Linked DNA regions of Homo sapiens: regions 1 and 3 are each linked to region 2. Evidence: promoter capture Hi-C in 16 types of primary human blood cells and fetal thymus (Javierre and others, 2016). All regions are on one chromosome and are shown on one strand. The core of a region is centred on a gene start or on the middle of the fragment in contact, and the rest is flanking DNA. Distances in the headings are between cores, read along the strand shown. Region 1 overlaps LINS1 (lines homolog 1). Region 2 holds the start of SPATA41 (spermatogenesis associated 41). Region 3 overlaps LINS1 (lines homolog 1).

Evidence for each region. The method cuts DNA at HindIII sites, captures the fragments that hold promoters and counts their contacts. A CHiCAGO score of 5 or more calls a contact.
Region 1: a fragment that was not itself captured here is called in contact with the fragment with the promoter of SPATA41 in region 2 in 5 of 17 cell types (M2 macrophages, naive CD4 T cells, M0 macrophages and 2 more); the score reaches 8.2 in M2 macrophages.
Region 3: a contact is called between a fragment that was not itself captured here and the fragment with the promoter of SPATA41 in region 2, in 2 of 17 cell types (naive CD4 T cells and non-activated CD4 T cells). The highest score is 5.7, in naive CD4 T cells.

Annotation. Positions count from the first base shown.
Region 1 is chr15:100,572,409-100,576,848 of GRCh38, forward strand. LINS1 (lines homolog 1) reads right to left here. Exons shown (of 7, transcript NM_001040616.3): 4 at 2,579-2,720; 5 at 1,243-1,833. Among named protein-coding and RNA genes, the nearest start is that of LINS1, 28 kb to the right of the region's middle. The HindIII fragment of the contact is 1,080 bases long and covers 1,306-2,385 here.
Region 2 is chr15:100,348,465-100,352,720 of GRCh38, forward strand. It overlaps SPATA41 (spermatogenesis associated 41), which reads right to left and starts at 2,254. Exons shown (of 2, transcript NR_028139.1): 1 at 270-2,254. It overlaps LOC105371021 (a long non-coding RNA gene), which reads left to right and starts at 1,142. Exons shown (of 3, transcript XR_007064777.1): 1 at 1,142-1,218; 2 at 1,911-2,481; 3 at 3,215-3,680. RefSeq lists an enhancer at 1,422-1,681. The HindIII fragment of the contact is 2,620 bases long and covers 1-2,574 here.
Region 3 is chr15:100,595,291-100,599,810 of GRCh38, forward strand. The region is part of intron 1 of LINS1 (lines homolog 1); the gene reads right to left. Among named protein-coding and RNA genes, the nearest start is that of LINS1, 4.6 kb to the right of the region's middle. The HindIII fragment of the contact is 2,419 bases long and covers 1,413-3,831 here.

The DNA.
Region 1 (4,440 bases), core at 596-3,095, 220 kb after region 2:
GGATGCCAGAGCTGTCTGTCCAAGAATGCAACCAAGCAAAAATAATTTTGTCTTCAAAATAACAGAAAAACATATTTTTTGTTTGTTTAAAGCATAGAAGTACTACTATTAAGCACAAAAATAAAAAACGTTTTAGGTAGTTTGAACTACAATTTAAAACTGAATTATATAACAGGTGCCATCTAGTGTTATAAATTAAAACTGCACAGAATTATAACTAATGTGTAGTTATTAAAAGCTAAATTATATCCAAAGCAATTCAGTGATGTCATTGCTCACAATTCAAACTTTTCACTGAATCTGTATGCTGCCTGTTTAGAGACATTTACTATTCATTTTTCTCAAGTAAAATGGAAGACTTTGAACTCCTGAGTTACTATTCTGGAAATTATATATGTAACAATTTCTTTGTCAATATAACTTCTCATATATTAGCTTTAATTCAATATCTAATTTTCAATAATCTACATTAGTGGAAACACTAATTGTATGAAGGATTAATACAAATGGGGTGGGGAAACAGAGACGAGAGGATCACTTCAGCTCAAAACGTTGAGGCTGCAGTGAGCCTGGGAGACAGAGCAAGACCCTGCCTCAAAATAAATAAACAGTAAACACAACAATAACAAAGAAATAACAACAAACAATAATAACAATAAACACATAAGTGGGAGTGAACATATTTTTCTTTAATCTCTCTGTCTTCTCCTCTCTCTCTCTCTCTCTCCCTGAAAGGATCTCCATCTGTTGCACCAGGACTGGAGTGCAGGTGTGCGATGGGTCGCGGCTCACTGTAGCCTTGATCTCCCAGGCTAGGACCTCCCAGGTTGGGACAGGAGGAATAGCATGGGCCGAAGGGGGGTCAGGGCTGCAGTGGGCCATGGTCACGCACCTGCAGTTTAGATTAAAAAAAAAAAAAGGATTAATATAAATAAAATGCTGTAAATACTTGAATATGAATTGATTTCCATCACTTACTTTGAGATGACTCAACAGCAACTTTTTTAAACCTAAATCATTCCTTATGCTTTACAAATTCATTGTAGGCACAAAAAGCTGACATGTTTCTTAAAGGTAAATCCAGTTCTTTTTTTTTTTTTTGAAAATGTAATAAGTTACAAATAGGATAACATACAGCTTAAATTACTGGAATTTAAACTAGTCCTGAGATTTGATAATTATGAATTACTGTACTTAAGTAAATAATTACACACTGCATACAAAAGGAGTTTGGAGAATTACCTTTCACTTCACTTGCTGAAGAATAATTTTGAAACTTGATTTCTAAGGATTTCATTATAACTAAGCTTGCTGCTCTAAGGATCACATGATCTGGACTAGTGATAAGTTCACATTCAGGTTGAACTTCATCACCTCCAAAAAAGGAATGTTTTTCATAAACAGACAGTGTCTTCAACAACCCCGAATTCACAGCTTGCAAAACAGCATTAGCTAAAGCCAGCATGTCCACCGCTACATGATGGTCTGGCGGCATTAAGGCAGGCACAGATCCACGACAGAGGTCTTCACCCACTTTACAGAGAAGGCACTTTTTGAGGAATATGATGACCTTCCTTTTAACAAAAGCCTGAATAGGCCAGGTAATAACTTCTAGCATGCAAGATGGTTTCAAAAATAAAATCCTCTGGCAAGTGAAATGTAACTTCAGGTGGATTCTGGAGGCGATGAGAAGCTCAAGCAAATCCAGGAAACACATCAGGATGTTTACTATTTTAGAAGTATCCCGGCAGTTTTCAAAATGCTGAGAGAATAAGGAATTGTAAAACACTTCAAAAATGGTGTCGAAATGAGTCAGGAACTGCTTTAGAATTTCTGCAATTATAAAAATAGGAATTATAAACAGGAAAAACAGTCTTCTTCAAACAATTTTACAATTCACTTTTTATAAATATCACTTTTTAAGATGAAAAAACAGATTTGGAATGTTTACCTCTAACATTAACAAATGAGGTTACACAGATTAATGGGTAAGAACCACGGTTAAAATTCATTTTATGGCTGGGTGTGGTGGCTCACAACTGTAATCCCAGCACTTCGGGAGGCCGATGCGGGTGGATCACTTGAGGTCAGGAGTTTGAGACCAGCCTGGCCAACATGGTAAAACCCTGTGTCTACTAAAAATACAGAAATTAGCTGGGTGTGGTGGTGAGCGCCTGTAATCCCAGCTACTCGGGAGGCTGAGGCAGAAGAATCACTTGAACTCGCAAGGCAGGGGTTGCAGTGAGCCAAGATCATGCCATTGCACTCCAGCCTGGGCAACAAAGCAAGACTTGTCTCAAAAAAATAAAACAAAACAAAACAAAAAATATTCATTTTACGAATATCAGTAACATCAAACAATGCAAGGGATTTGTGCTCATGAAAAGCTTTACTTTTTTCCTTATACTTTTTTTTCTTTTAAAACAGGTTATCCTCAATCAAAATATATTGGAAGAGACTGACTTTTTCATTACTTTAAGACAGATCAGATGTTCCAAATTAAGTTTTGTTTCTCATTATAAATGCAACGCTCCCAGGAGCAAGATGATGATTGTTTATGGGGCCATGTAATCCATACCTGTTTTCTGTGAACATGAATCTTTAAAGATTTCTTTTATTATTGCTGTAAGAGTCCAGAGGCAGTATATTGCTTTATTACTCTCAGAGTATTCAGAAAGATTTTTCTGGCAAAAAGCAATCCAGGAATTACTTAAGGTTATCTACAAGTGAGAAAATAAAGCAAGCAGTTAAAATACAATATTTTCTTTACATAATACAACTGTATACAACATTGTTTATACATTTGGCCAAAAGAAGTATGATAATATGTGGCACACCGAGAAGGAACAGAAGTATCCTAATATTATTTAAGTAAAAAAATCGAATATGCCACAGAAATAAAATAAAGGGATGGAGGAAGATCTACCAAGCAAATGGAAAACAAAAAAAGGCAGGGGTTGCAATCCTAGTCTCTGATAAAACAGACTTTAAACCAACAAACATCAAAAGAGACAAAGAAGACCATTACATAATGGTACAGGGATCAATTCAACAAGAAGAGCTAACTATCCTAAATATATATGCACCCAATACAAGAGCACCCAGATTCATAAAGCAACTCCTTAGAGACCTACAAAGAGACTTAGACTCCCACACAATAATAATGGGAGACTTTAACACCCCACTGTCAACATTAGACAGAACAACGAGACAGAAAGTTAACAAGGATATCCAGGAATTGAATTCAGCTCTGCACCAAGCAGACCTAATAGACATCTACAGAACTCTCCAACCCAAATCAACAGAATATACATTCTTCTCAGCACCACACCACACCTATTCCAAAATTGACCACATAGTTGGAAGTAAAGCACTCCTCAGCAAATGTAAAAGAACAGAAATCACAACAAACTGTCTCTCAGACCACAGTGCAATCAAACTAGAACTCAGGATTAAGAAACTCACTCAAAACCATTCAACTACATGGAAACTGAACAACCTGCTCCTGAATGACTACTGGGTACATAATGAAATGAAGGCAGAAATAAAGATGTTCTTTGAAACCAACAAGAACAAAGACACAACATACCAGAATCTCTGGGACACATTTAAAGCAGTACGTAGAGGGAAATTTACAGCACTAAATGCCCACAAGAGAAAGCAGGAAAGATCTAAAATTGACACCCTAACATCACAATTAAAAGAACTAGAGAAGCAAGAGCAAACACATTCAAAAGCTAGCAGAAGGCAAGAAATAACTAAGATCAGAGCAGAACTGAAGGAGATAGAGACACAAAAAACCCTTCAAAAAATCAATGAATCCAGGAGCTGGTTTTTTGAAAAGACCAACAAAATTGATAAACCGTTAGCAAGACTAATAAAGAAGAAAAGAGAGAAGAATCAAATAGACGCAATAAAAAATGATAAAGGGAGTATCACCACTGATTCCATAGAAATACAAACTACCATCAGAGAATACTATAAATACCTCTATGCAAATAAAGTAGAAAATCTAGAAGAAATGGATAAATTCCTGGACACATACACCCTCCCAAGACTAAACCAGGAAGAAGCTGAATCTCTTAATAGACCAATAATAGGCTCTTAAATTGAGGCAATAATAATAGCTTACCAACCAAAAAAAGCCCAGGACCAGATGGATTCACAGCCGAATTCTACCAGACGTACAAGGAAGAGCTGGTACCATTCCTTCTGAAACTATTCCAATCAACAGAAAAAGAGGGAATCCTCCCTAACTCATTTTATGAGGACAGCATCATCCTGATACCAAAGCCTGGCAGAGACACAACAAAAAAAGAGAATTTTAGACCAATATCCCTGATGAACATCGATGAGAAAATCCTCAGTAAAATACTGGCAAAACCAAATCCGGCAGCACATCAAAAAGCTTATCCACCATGATCAAGTGGGCTTCATCCC
Region 2 (4,256 bases), core at 1,004-3,503:
ATAGTATGCAAATTTAACTAAGTAGATGTTGTCATGGCATTTGTAAGCTGCCATGGCACTAGCGGGAGTGTCTTTTGCCATGCTAATACATTATAATTAGTGTATAATGAGCAGTGAGGACGAGCAGAGGTTGCTTTTGTCACCATCTGGTTTTGGTAGGTTTTGGCCAGCTTCTTTACCGCATCTTGTTTTATCAGCAGGGTCTTTGTGACCTGTATCTGGCAAAACCTCCCCTGAGATGCAATTCATTGGTTCCTGGGGTAACCAACCTGCCTCCCTGGCAGCCACTGACTCATCCTGTGACGAAGAATGCCTAACCTCCTGGGAATGCAGCCCAGCAGGTCTCAGCCTCATTTTGCGCAGCACCTGTTCAAGATGGAGTCGCTCTGGTTCGAACACCTCTGACAGCTGCCCGACAATGTGAATGTACTTAATGCCACTGAACTTACAAATGATTGAAATGGTAATTTTACGTTATAGTACATTTTACTACAGTAAAAAATGTTTTAAAAAAGAAATCATTACTCTCTTGCTAAGATCTTGTTTCATCTTAACACACACGAGATGCCTTGTCTTCATTTCGTGGACAGGCAAGGCCGAATTCCGTTTCACAGATAGAGGACTGAGATCTGGAGGCAGAGGGCAGGAATTAAAAACAAGACAAACAAGAGCCTTATACAGGCAGTGTCTTTCTGAGTCTGATCCCTGTTGTCTTGAGAGCTGCGGTGAGGGAAAGTCGTCTTCAGAGCCCTCAGGGTCAAAGCAGTTTGTTACCCTTGAGATAGACAAAGCTCCTAACCTCTCCAGCTTTTTGCCGACAGCTCGATTCTGATGGGCACTGACCTTTTCCGACCCTGTTTTCAGGAGCCGACTCCTGGCAGGTTGGTTGTAGGGGCCCTCTTGAGTGCTTCACACACAGCAGTCCTGTTGGGGTGAAGGTCACCGTCACTGTGATAATTGTTGTCGTCGTTGAAACCACCCAGCCCGAAAGCAGCATGGGCTGTGCCCAGAGCCGCCGTGCCAGAAGCCCACGCTTAGAAATAGAGGGCCGAAGACCAAAGAGGACTGCGGGTTCTTGGGCCAAACGTGACCCTCTCAAATCCCCCAACTCGGGGATTTCGTTAGCTGGGGACTGGTGTGCCCGGGTTCCAAGACCCCTGCGTAGACTCTGTCTATAGGTGGAAGAAGGCCTTTGCCCCGAGGCATCCAGAGGTAACGGTGAGAGGAACAAGGGCACGTGGGGGATCCCACCACAGCCTCCCCTGAGACCCTCTTCACGCTGGTTGCAGGAGTAGCCAACCCCGCTCCCTGGCAGCCCGTGAGATGCCACATCCCCTCCAGCAGGGGGCGGCCGGCATCGGTCCCGTCTTCCTAAACCGGCGTTGGTGGGAAATGCCGGCACCAGCTCCCTCCCCGCTCCAGAGCCCTGTTTTCCCCATTTGTATTTCACTACTTTCCTGTTGAGCTTGGATTCCAGCCTCAAATTCCGCGATTTGGCCGGCATCCTAATCCCCGAGTGACTCTTGCCAACCACTCTCTGTGGGGCCTGTGTGCTTCCTCCTGGGTTCTGGGGCGCTGGCGGCGTCCGCTTCACCGGGAACGGGAGCCCCAGCCTCCCGAGGCCTTCCTGCCTGGCTCTGGGAATGGCCACTGTCCAGAAAGCCCCGCGGCCGTCCATGCTCGCTCGCTCAGTCAGGCCCTTGTGGGGATATTGCAGAACGAGTCCGAGTTACTATCCCTTTAAATACAGGCGTTTCGGCCTAGCTGCCGCCGGTCCAATCCGCAGCGCTTCCGTGCCCCACTTTCCCGCGTCAGCCTGGCTCCGGCCTCCACCAGGGGGTGCTAGTGAGATCCCAGCCAGCCTCAGAGCTGAGCGTCCAGGGCCTTCAAATGTCCCCATCCTTGAAAAGGCAACTCCAGTGGCATCTTCTGCGGGGAGACCAGAAGCAGCATCTGACGAGGAGACAGCACTGGCGGTCCCGACACAACTGAATCGGCAGGATGAGGGCCCTTAGTGTTAGGCACCGGCGGAGCTGCATCCCACCCCGTCTCGTCCCCTGAGAACAGCTGTGAGAAGCCGCCTATTTTTCATCGTTCTGCAACACACCTTTCCCTTCCTTGGGATATTTCTCCTCTTTCAGCATTGCCGCATCAGGGTTCCAAAGCCCCGTTTCTCTCCTAGTTCTTTCTTTGCTCAAGAAAAGCAGCTTGTCTGATAAACTAAGCTATGTATGATTCGCTGCCAGTACAGACTGAAAAACAAAATAAACTCCCAATTCACAGTCCTCCGTTGCGTAACAGTGAGCAGACGTTCTGAGAAATGCATCGTCAGGCAATTGCATCATTGTGCAAACAATATAGAGTGTACTTACCCAAACCTAAACAGCACAGCCTACTACACACCCAGGCTGTAGGCTGTGCTTCTAGACTACAAACCTGTACAGTGTGGTACTGAACACTGTAGGCAACTGTAACACAATGGTAAGTATTTGTGTATCTAAACATAGAAAAGATACAGTAAAAATATGGTATGAAAGATTGAAACTGGTGCACCTGCCTAGGGCACCTACCGTAAGCTTGGAGCTTACGGGACTGAAAGTTGCTCTGGGTGAGTCAGTAAGTGAGTGGTGAGTAAATACGAAGGCCTAGGACATTACTGTACACTACTGTAGACTTTAAAACCCTGTACACTAGGCCCACACTCAATTTATTTTTAAAAATTTTCTTTCCTTCAATAATATATTCACTTTAGCTTACTGTAACTTTTCTACCTTAAGAATTTTTAAATTTTTTGACTCTTTTAATAACAGCTTGAATACACAAACACATTGTACAGCTATACAAAAATATTTTCATTCTTCATATCCTTATTCTATAAGCTTTTTTCCTACTTTTGAAGTTGTTTATTTTTTACATTTTAAACTTTTTGTCAAATATTAAGACACAAACACACATTAGCCTAGGCCTATACAGGGTCAGGATCATCAATACCACTGTCTTCTGCTTTCACATCTTGTCCCACTGGAAGGTCTTCAATGGTAATAACACACATTCTTAGTAAATGCAAATAGTCATGGCTCAGACTGATATAGTAATGATAGACTATTCAATATGTGGTATTGGACAGCTGTTTATATATTTGTACGAACCTAAGTTAGATTCTGTGGTGGTTCAAAAATATATCCTCTAATTATGACCTGCTTCCCTTCAACAGGTGTACCTAATTCCTCTGCCTAGAAAGTGTGCTGGAATTACTGCCTGGCTTCTGATGAATAGGGCGTATTGAGAGTGATGCTTTGTGAGTTCTGAGGCTAGGTCATAGAAAGGATTGAACTTATTCCTGAATGTTGCTCTTGGATCACTTGCTTTTTTGGGAACCACCAGCCATGTCATGAGGACACTCAAGCAACCCTGCAGAGAAGCACATGTGTGGAGAGGCACTTCTTGGAAAGGAGGCCAACTTGCCAGAACCAACTAATTTGTCATGTGAGTGAGTCATTTTGGAAGCAGATCCTCTACCCTCAGTCAGGCCTTCCGATGATTTCAGCCCCCAGCCTTTGAGTCTGCCCCAAACACCATGAGTAGAGACAAGCCCTTCCCACTGTGTCCACCCTGGCTGAATTCCAGACCGTTAAAAAAACAAGAGAAAATAAATTATTATTAGTGTTTTGAGTCACTAAGTTTTGGACTAATTTGTTATGCAGCAATAGCTAACAACTACAGAGTCATAACACAAACTAAAATTAATTCTAAGGCATGTTAAAGATTTATATGAAAGCATTCATCTAATGGAGGTGTGCAAGAAGTGGCTATAAAAAATTTAGGGCACCCAAAAGCAACCTGTAGGCTGAGCAGGGTAAGTACATCTGCAAGAGCAGCCAGATGGCTAGTTGGTCCCTGTGTGCAGCCTCTCTACCCACCCATGGTATAGGTCCAGGAATGGAACTGTTTAGCTTCCCTAGGAAACAATGAATGTGGTGCTTGCATTGTGTTGCTGACACCATCAGAGAGGAAATGGAAGTCCCAGTGTCCAGAAGCTAAACAGAAACACACACACACAAAAGACAGAAGGAAAGAAAAAAAGGGCCAAAATATCCCACAACAAAGGGAAATATAGTCATGATACATGCTTAACTTCAGAAAAGACTTATATAATAATTATATCAAAATCATAATGTAAACACTGTGCAATGATTTTCAACTTTTAGAATCAACCAAAAAGAAATAGCAGAATATATCATCCCGGCTGCAGAATC
Region 3 (4,520 bases), core at 1,372-3,871, 250 kb after region 2:
ACATGACTAGTACCTAGAATATATAAAGAACTCCCAAAACTCAACATTAAAAAAAAAAATTCAATTACAAAATGGATCAGACATGCACAGACATTTCACCAAAGAGGATATAAAGATGGCAAATAATCCCACAGAAAGATGCTTAACCATATTAGCCATTACAGAAATATGAATTAACACTACAGTGAACTACCACTACTAGAAGAGCTAAAAATGACTCCAAATGCTGGGGAGGATGCTGAGAAACTAGATCTCTCCTACACTGCTGGTGAGAATGAAAAACGGCACATCCTCTTTGGAAAACAATTTGTGGTTATCTTTAAAAAGATATGTCTATGTTTGAATTCAGAATACAAAAATAATCTATTTTCATGGTCAATATTAGAAGTAAAAAAAATTACTAGTTTCTTTATATGATGTGGCTACTACATAGACTAATAGACTGGGAAAGTCAATAGTAGGCCTTCCCCTAATTCAACAACAGTTGGTTCAAATCTGACCACAGCCCAAGAGGCTACTTAATCTATTTTGCTCCATTAATGAAGATGCAGTGACAACTGTCGCGGAAGTTGAGGCCTCCAAACCCAGGCTGTCTTCCAGGATTCTGGTTCCCTCCACCAATCGAAACTGCACTTTTCACAGAAAAAATAAAATGGGTCTGGTTAGACAAGAGCACCTCCCTCCCCTATTAAAAGAAGTGGGGCAGATATCTTCCGACAGCATGCCATGTGCCAGTATCTTCCCTTTAGTTCCATTCTTCACTCTCCTCTGTGCCCCAACAGACTCCAGGAGATTTGGAGTGGGAGGGGCGGAAGGCAGGCTGGACTTTCAAGCTCCAGGAACTGCCAGCTCTCTTTACCTTCAGGGCTAAAGGGGGTGCTGGCGGTTACTGGCCTTGGAGTGCTACACCATCCTTCCTTTTCCTCAAAACAATAGTACTCAAACTGTGTCATGCACTAGACAGGTTTATGAAAGCAGACTGCAGGGCCCTATCCTAGGAGCTTCCCATAAGATAGTTCTGGGGTGGGGCCCAGTAATTTGTATTTCTAACAAGTTTCCAGGTTACTTCTGAGATAGTGAGAATACAAACTCTGTCACGTGTTTGTAAATTGTCTTCCTATTAAACTCTTGTCTTAGGACTCTGAAACAGGCCAGATTTTTTTGGCATGAAGGAAAAGCCTGGCAATCAAGTTATAGATAAAAGACTTAATGCTTAAATGCATTTTTCTGTCAAAGTGATATACTGGTAACAGCCTGATGATACAGGAGCTAGAAATTATTTAGACAGATAGTGAGGGTAAGAGAGTCCTCGGCAAGGTTTCCCTTTTAATAAAAAGCAGCCCCCAAATCATTTCTTTTCTAACAAAAAGCGGCCTGAAAAATCAAGCTGCAAGCATAGATACACAAGTAAAAGCTTGCATAGGTGAATGCCGGCAGCTGTGCCAATGGGAAAGGGCTACCTGGGGACCAGGCACAGATAAGAATGTAACAGAGGAAGCCTGCTGCAATTGGTTAAATCCAAGATGGCCAAAAACTTGACTGAATGCATACTCTTGGCTGCATTATGCCCCATTACCATAAAACTTCCCTGGGGAAACCGCCCACTCCCTGCCACGTACCTGAAGCTATGGCAGTTCCAGATTAACCACATTTAGTCAAGAAAAGGGTGGCGCCCTGATTCTGGGAACTGCCCACCCATTTCCTGGAAACCCTCTCCTTTCATCATAGAATATTTGTGCCTTCATCATGCCTGTCTGCGTAGCGAGCCCTGACCACATTACACGCCTCTTTTGAGCACATCCAGGCTCCTCTTTTGAGTGTGCACTTGCTTTCACTCTGCAACAAACCTTCTACATTTTCACTGTGGTCTCCCTTTCAAATTCTTTTGTGCAGAGAAGCGAAGAACCTGACCTGGCCTACTGGCAACAGTATCTTTCTCAAGTAGCTCTATTATGTGACCACTCCAAAGGCAAATCTTTTTTTTTTTTTTTAAACATAGCACAAATTAATGCTGGACATTAGAATCATAACGTGTTCATACTAGAAAAAATCTCAAGAGATAATTTAGAGATAATTCTCAAACCGTAGCATCAGAATTACCTGGAAGGCTTATTAGAACACAAATGGCTGGGCCCACTTTGGAGATTCTGATTTAGTGGGTCTGGGAGGGCCCAAGAATTGAACCAGGGACTACATTTTGAGAACCACTGCACAATCTACTTGATTTATTGATGAGGAATCTCAGCTCCTTAGGTTTTTATATGCTAATGCTAAGCATTTTTAAAATAAATGGAAATTATCCAGTGTATCAATATGAATACTTTTCTATACTTAGTTGCTAAATTATAACTGTATGTTTTAAGTGGTACTTCAGAATGAAATATTTCACTGAAAGGTTTTCCTTAGTCTTCCCCTTTTCCAGTCTATGCCTTGTCCCTTTTCCATCTGCCCCCACAAACCCGCCACCAGTGGCAGGGTAGCGTTGAGGAACTGTCTATAGATGTGATACTGTCTAGATTTTACTGAACTCCTAAATTCTGTACACAGACAAGATCTGATTTTTCAATTGATAAAACGAGATTATCTACCTACCTCAGCCAAGTAGCATACTCAAAGATTTGCAAAAATTAAATGGCTTATATGTGAAAACACCTGTATAACTCAAGTAGGAAGATGTCAATATGTCTTTATTTATTAACCTTGAAAGGTTCCTTCCAGCCTCTGGGCCTTGATACAATGCTTCTCCTTCCACCCACTTTCCCTTTTGTTTTAGGCTTAAATATGACTTTCTTTGGCAGGGGTAGGTCCTCCGGTGATACTGTCTTCCAGCTCTGGTGCCCTGTCTTACAGAATGTGTCACAATTATACTTTAACGATTTGTGCAATGATTTTTATGATTTAGAGTTGTCTGCTTGGTTCTTCCCTAGCTCCTAGCACAGCATTTGATACACAGTAGGTACTTATATTTGTGGAATACATTCCTGGCTGAAGATTAATTTAGTAGTGTATATGTAACAATCCTAAAATCAGTCCCAAAGTATATTTTAGTACCGTTTTGATCTCAAAAAACTTTAAAAACACCATGTAATATTTTAAGTTGTGAATTTTAAATTATAATAAAAATGTAGTATCAAAGAATTATAAACAGTAGTATCCATAGCAGGGATTAAGTTCTGAGCTCATTCAGTCTTTACCGTATGACACATCTGACAACGTACTTGACAGAAGCAACACACACTGAAGCACCATCTTAAAATGGCTGTGGTAGAATACCATAGAAGACCAAAATCCCTTAAATTACCAGGGCAAGAACTATAAGGAACTCAAAAGCCTCCAGTTAGCTTCCTTTCTTTCGGCGTTCTTTTTGCTGTGATGACCAAGGTCTGAAATACAATTTCTCTACCCAGCCCCATCGCCTTTTCTGCCAGGTACAGCTGAACTAAGTTGGGCTAACAAGGCAAATGATGGGCTCCAAACTGTGCTGCATCTGTCTTTATGGTGGCCCTCTTTATTACACCAAGATCCCCAGACACAACCTGCTGGCCCAGAACACTGCCTGCTGCCAACTAGAGCATAACCTGCTCATTCTCTCCACCACCAAGTGCTTTATGGGCCAGGACACAGCCTCCTGGGCAGTGGTCCTTGACCTTGGAATCTGACCTTGACACTGACATCACTGGAACATTAGGAAAAACCCATGAGCCTTGGACTCCCTAGAGACCAGCTAAATCAGAATTGCTGCAGTGGTGCTGGGGCATTTTTCCAATGACAAAGTCTCTTTCTACTCAAGAAATAAACTCAATTCTGATTGAGTCAGGGTTTCATGAATCAAGCTTCATGAATACTTATCCCAAATTATTTCACTTATATGTTGTAAGATGTTCCCATTTTTGTGAGTTTTATATTATTAACTAAGTTAATGGGAAATGAAGTGTATCTGTTAAAACCTAATCAATATTAACTTGTTATAAATATTCCGCAATCTAAACTGCTTTTACATCATTGAAAAGTTATAAAAATTAGCAAATCTGATAGCACCAATTCAATAAAGCAATTTAAAATTACCTAGTAGCACATTCTGTGAAACTTTGACAATATGATGTTACTTGGCTATGATATAATCATGTACTTCAATCATTTGAAAATGGTTGTTTAACTCAAAGGCAGGATTTTTAATGAAAAACAAATGGCCAGAAATACAAAGAACTAGGAATTAGGAGACAACTCTGTTTCTAGGCTCTTCACCAACAAGTTCTTAGGCCCCCATCTCTCTACTTAACTATCATTTAGCAAATACACCATATGAATTGCATGGGTGCCGAGTCTGCTATAAGAATGAATATGTTCTCCACAACAATTTACATATTTATTCATTTCTCTCTCCCTCTTTTTCCTTCTTTTTGGGAGTTCAAAACTTCTTGACTCTATAATTAGTAAATGTTATAAAACTGAACTTGTACATTATATTTGAACTGTTAAAAAGCAAAATTTGAGGCTGGGTGCAGTGGCTCACACCTGTA